2 separate regions of the Homo sapiens genome follow, and region 1 is linked to region 2. Evidence: promoter capture Hi-C in human tissues and cell types (Jung and others, 2019). All regions are on one chromosome and are shown on one strand. The core of a region is centred on a gene start or on the middle of the fragment in contact, and the rest is flanking DNA. Distances in the headings are between cores, read along the strand shown.

What was found. The method cuts DNA at HindIII sites, captures the fragments that hold promoters and counts their contacts. A contact is called where the count stands out against the background at its distance.
Region 1: a fragment that was not itself captured here is called in contact with the fragment with the promoter of HFM1 in region 2 in 2 of the 25 tissues and cell types used here (spleen and stomach).

What each region holds. Positions count from the first base shown.
Region 1 is chr1:91,443,682-91,446,537 of GRCh38, forward strand. No RefSeq gene overlaps it. Among named protein-coding and RNA genes, the nearest start is that of HFM1, 40 kb to the left of the region's middle. The HindIII fragment of the contact is 6,801 bases long and covers 1-2,856 here.
Region 2 is chr1:91,402,886-91,406,149 of GRCh38, forward strand. HFM1 (helicase for meiosis 1) reads right to left here and starts at 1,952. Exons shown (of 39, transcript NM_001017975.6): 1 at 1,913-1,952. RefSeq lists a silencer at 1,547-1,926. The HindIII fragment of the contact is 20,002 bases long and covers 1-3,264 here.

The DNA of each region.
Region 1 (2,856 bases), core at 204-2,703, 40 kb after region 2:
ATTCTTAAAGAAAAAAATTTTCAACCCAGAATTTCATACACAGCCAAACTAAGCTTCATAAGTGAAGGAGAAATAAAATACTTTACAGACAAGCAAATGCTGAGAGATTTTTGTCACCACGAGGCCTGCCTTACAAGAGCTCCTGAAGGAAGCAATAAACATGAAAAGGAACAACTGGTACCAGCCACTGCAAAAACATGCCAAATTGTAAAGACCATCGATGCTAGGAAGAAACTGCATCAACTAATGGTCTAAATAACCAGCTAACATCATAATGACAGGATCAAATTCACACATAACAATATTAACCTTAAATGTAAATGGGCTAAATGCTCCAATTAAAAGACACAGACTGGCAAATTGGATAAAGAGTTAAGACCCATCAGTGTGCTGTATTCAGGAGACCCATCTCACGTACAGAGACAGATATAGGCTCAAAATAAAGGAATTCAGGAAGATCTACCAAGCAAATGGAAAGCAAAAAAAAAAAAAAAAAAAAAAAAAAGCAGGGGTTGCAATCCTAGTTTCTGATATAACAGACTTTAAACCAACAAAGATCAAAAGAGACAAAGAAAGCCATTACATAATGGTAAAGGGATCAATTCAACAAGAAGAGCTAACTATCCTAAATATATATGCACCCATACAGGAGCACCCAGATTCATAAAGCAAGTCCTTAGAGACTTACGGAGAGACTTAGACTCCCACACAATAATAGTGGGAAACTTTAACACCCCACTGTCAATATTAGACAGATCAACAAGACAGAAGGTTAACAAGGATATCCAGGAGTTGAACTCAGCTCTGCACCAAGCAAACCTAATAGACATCTACAGAATCGCAACCCCAAATCAACAGAATATACATTCTTGTCAGCACCACATCACACTTATTCCAAAATTGACCACATAGTTGGAAGTTAAGGACTCCTCAGCCAATGTAAAAGAACAGAAATTATAACAAACTGTCTCTCAGACCACAGTGCAATCAAATTAGAACTTGGGATTAAGAAACTCACTCAAAACCGCTCAACTACATGGAAACTGAACAACCTGCTCCTAAATGACTACTGGGTAAATAATGAAATGAAGGCGGAAATAAAGATGTTCTTTGAAACCAATGAGAACAAAGATGCAATGTACCAGAATCTCTGGGACACATTTAAAGCAGTGTGTAGAGGGAAATTTGTAGCACTAAATGCCCACAAGAGAAAGCAGGAAAGATCTAAAATTGACACCCTAACATCACAATTAAAAGAAGTAGAGAAGCAAGAGCAAACACATTCAAAAGCTAGCAGAAGGCAAGAAATAACTAAGATCAGAGCAGAACTGAAGGAAAGAGAGACACAAAAAACCCTTCAAAAAATCAATGAATCCAGGAGCTGGTTTTCTGAAAAGATCAACAAAATAGATAGACCACTAGCAAGACTAATAAAGAAGAAAAGAGACAAGAATCAAATAGATGCAATAAAAAATTATAAAGGGGATATCACCACCAATCCCACAGAAATACAAACTACCATCAGAGAATACTATAAACACCTCTATGCAAATAAACTAGAAAACCTAGAAGAAATGGATAAATTCCTCGACACATTCACCCTCCCAAGACTAAACCAGAAAGAAGTTGAATCTCTGAATAGACCAATAACAGGCTCTGAAATTGAGGCAATAATCAATAGCCTACCAACAAAAAAAGTCCACTACCAGATGGATTCACAGCCGAATCCCACCAGAGGTACAAAGAGGAGCTGGAACCATTCCTTCTGAAACTATTCCAATCAATAGAAAAAGAGGGAATCCTCCCTAACTCATTTCATGAGGCCAGCATCATCCTGATACCAAAGCCTGGCAGAGACACAACAAAAAAAGAGAATTTTAGACCAATATCCCTGATGAACATTGATGCAAAAATCCTCAATAAAATACTGGCAAACTGAATCCAGCAGCACATCAAAAAGCTTGTCCACCATGATCAAGTGGGCTTCATCCCTGGGATGCAAGGCTGGTTCAACATACAAAAATCAATAAATGTAATCCAACATATAAACAGAACCAAAGACAAAAACCACATGATTATCTCAATAGATGCAGAAAAGGCCTTTGACAAAATTCAACAACACTTCATGCTAAAAACTCTCAATAAATTAGGTATTGGTGGGACGTATCTCAAAATAATAAGAGCTATCTATGACAAACCCACAGCCAATATCATACTGAATGGCAAAAACTGGAAGCATTCCCTTTGAAAACTGGCAAAAGACAGTGATGCCCTCTCTCACCACTCCTATTCAACATAGTGTTGGAAGTTCTGGCCAGGGCAATCAGGCAGGAGAAAGAAATAAAGGGTATTCAATTAGGAAAAGAGGAAGTCAAATTGTTCCTGTTTGCAGACGACATGATTGTATATTTAGAAAACCCCATCGTCCCAGCCCAAAATCTCCTTAAGCTGATAAGCAACTTCAGCAAAGTCTCAGGATACAAAATCAACATGCAAAAATCACAAGCATTCCCATACACCAATAACAGACAAACAGAGAGCAAAATCCCGAGTGAACTCCCATTCACAATTGCTATAAAAAGAATAAAATACCTAGGAATCCAACTTACAAGGGATGTGAAGGCCCTCTTCAATAAGAACTACAAACCACTGCTCAATGAAATAAAGGAGGACACAAACAAATGGAAGAACATTCCATGCTCATGGATAGGAAGAATCAATATCAGGAAAATGGCCATACTGCCCAAGGTAATTTATAGATTCAATGCCAACCCCATCAAGCTACCAATGACTTTCTTCACAGAATTGGAAAAAACTACTTTAAAGTTCATACGGAACTAAAAAAGAGCCCGCATT
Region 2 (3,264 bases), core at 702-3,201:
TAAAACATTTGGGAAGAAAAGCGTTGCATAAACTGACAAAAACCTCCTATACAAACAGCAAATATTTTCAAAAGAATTTTTGATTTCTAGTTCTAGCATACAAGAATATAACTTGTTTGGGTTCAGAATAAAAATATCATGTACATATTTTAGTTCTTATATACTCCTGTGAAAAAACACCCCTTATCTAAAACTGCATCCTCTCATTCCGCATTATTTTTCTTCATAGCATGAACTGATAACTAACATTATAGTATATGCTTAGTTGTTTATTATGTTTCTCCCTTTAGAGCAAGCAGGGACTTTTTGCTCATTAATGTGTTCCAATAACCCAGAATAGTGCCTGGCACACAGTAAATGGTCCATAAGAATGCATTGTGGAATAAATGCATTAGCAAGAACCAGTTTATAAAAATAGTGTCAAATAAAAATAATTTTCTGTTAATTTAGAAACTTAAAATTTGAGCCCCAATCTTCAACGTTCAGTTAAAAAATGTGAAATTTTTTTCTAGTTCAGGATTTATGTAAATAAAATCATGAAGGTTCTAAAAGATGATGAATTTGGCACTTTCATTATGTAAATCTTTTTTTAAAAAAGAAACACAGGTCCTAAAAGGGACCTTGCTACAGTTCAGTATGAGTTTGTGATGTGAGGGGATGCTATTTTAAATTAATTAAAGTTCTAGGTTTAGATTCAGATTTTTTAAGTTCCTATTATTTATTATTAAAGTTTTAGTTTCAGCACGTGGCACAAAATTAGATTGCCAAACACAATAAACAATATCATCCCAGGTAGTTTTAAGTGTCTGCTCTGCTATAATCACTGTTAAAATACTTAAGCTATTTTTGAGTCTACATAATTTGCGGTGCCGACCTTCTCTAGTTATATTAATGACAATCTCTAGTTAAATATTAATACAACTAGATACAATTAATCTTTAGTTATATTAATGACAATTCACCATTTTGTCTTCTGTAATCTTTACTTATTGTATAAAATTATTGTATACAATTATTGTATAAACTTATTGTATAAAATTGCAGGCCTATTACTTCTTACAATTTTTACTCAGAAACATACTCCTTATTTTAAAAGTACAGAAACTCAGATAAAAATTATTGATTTGCTAGAAATTTTTGTGAGTTAAGGAAGAAGTAGGGACCAACATTTACGGGAATAACCGACCGTCACAAATAACTGCAGAGAATCTGACAAAGAAGGAAAAATCAACGGGAACAAATTACTCCGAGGCTCGGCCTGGGAAAGGACCATACAATTGTCGGAGCCCCAGATCTCACCCCCTCTCCCCAGGCACCAACAGGGCTGGCTGGAAGGGTCCGGCTGGGGACCGAATCAGCACCTAAAGCAAAATAACAGCTCTGTGGATTTCCTAAGGAGAATATCCTAAATCCAAGGCAGAGGCCTTAGGGCCCCGAGAGTGGCACAAGAACGGGGCGCTGGGGCGCGTCACTCCACCCCCCGGGTCCCGTTTCCTCCCACCGCTGTGAAACCCGCGGCTCAGACAGATGGGTACGTCCCCCCCAGCGCTCGCTCAGGGGGCGCCACACACCGGAACACAAGACACAGGAACCGAACACCAATCAGCCGACTTTAGGGGCGGGCCGGACGCCCAGCCGGTCCCACCTCGCGGGGAGCTGGGCCCGCCCTGCGCCCGAGCGCGCCGCAGGCCTCACCGCTTTCTGACTGGAAATGCGGCTGAGGCGCTGGCGCGGGCCGGCGGCCTGGAGACGCCTGGTGACCAACAACTCGCCGCGCCCGTCCGCTGCCTGCCCGGCAGACGGCTCTAGAGATCGACCGCTGCCCGGACGGCTCGGCTGGGTCCCCACTTCCCCGCGGGCGTCGGGCCCCCGTCCCCACCTTCCCCGCGGGCGTCCGGGCCCCTCTCCTCACCTCCCTGCGGACAGCTCCTAGGCCAGTCGAGCGCCGATTTATCAGCCCCTCTGAGGACCGCCAAGCCTGGCTAAGCCGAGCTCCAAGCAATGGATCGCCCAAGCCCCCAACCTCTCCCTTCCTACCTTTTTTTCTCCGAAAGTTTATAACTGGTTTTGAATATATCTCTTGCAGTTTACTGTGTCTATTCTCTTTAAATACAGCTCCTAATCCTGGGTTCTAAGGGTCTACTAAATGGTACCCTTTCCCTAAGCTAACCTGCTTCTCTACCCCCACAACCACCACTCCACAAACATACCCCAACCTGCCTTTCTCATCAAAGTTAGCCAGGCCTCAGCTCTGGGACTTCCGGTCTCTTCGTACCTAAAAAGTGTTTTACCTATATTATTTATAAAATATCACAGTGGCACTCATGAGGTCGGTATTACTGGGGAACTTGATTCAGAAATAAAGTTAAATTTCAGAAATAAATATTCTAAAACACAATGATATTTAAATGTGTTTAGCCAACATGAATTTATAAAAACAGGGCAATAATGTGTTCTTAGGCTGTAAACATGAACAAACTATAAATTATCCTTTTAAGTTTCTTTAGAATTGTCCTCTGAAGATTTGGCAGGGAATGTTTTGTAGATGATAAAATAGCAACGAATCAATGATGCTTTTCTTACAGAGACATTTATCTTTCCTTTGGAAACCCCCACCTGTGACATCTAGGGCCAACCTACTGCTGTCTGACTGCCCTATTCCTGTTCTCTTTTTTCTTGCAGTTCTACTGTTCATTAGCTATATGACCTTGGAAAAGACCCAACCTTTAAGTCTTAATTCTGCATCCTCAGTGATACTCATAAGCTCTAACTCCTAGATACTGCTGCAAGGGTTAAATAAAATAATATTTGCAGTAGTCCTACCACACAGTAAATGCTCATGAATATTAATTTCTTTCACCTTCTCTGAAATGTAAAATTATTCCAGTAATTGGGTGAGCCAGTTATTTGGATACTGATAAAATAACAAGTCTTTGTCTCTTGGAGAAAATAACATTTTGACTGCATAAACTATTCTTAATAGAAAGGTTGAATTATCATTCCTCTCAAAAATACTGGAGAGGAAAGTTACTTTCCATAGACTGCATAGAGGAAAATAACGAAACAGTGCATTTGTTATAGTGAACCCCTCAATGTGTTGAAATTCATACATTGAATTCTAACCCCCGATGTGATGATATTTGAACGTGGGACTTTTGTGAGGTAATTAACTCAAAAGGGTAGAGCCTTCATGAGTAGGATTGTGCCCTTTTAAGAGGCCAGAGAGTTAGCTCGCTCTTTTCCTACCATGTGAGGATACAGGAG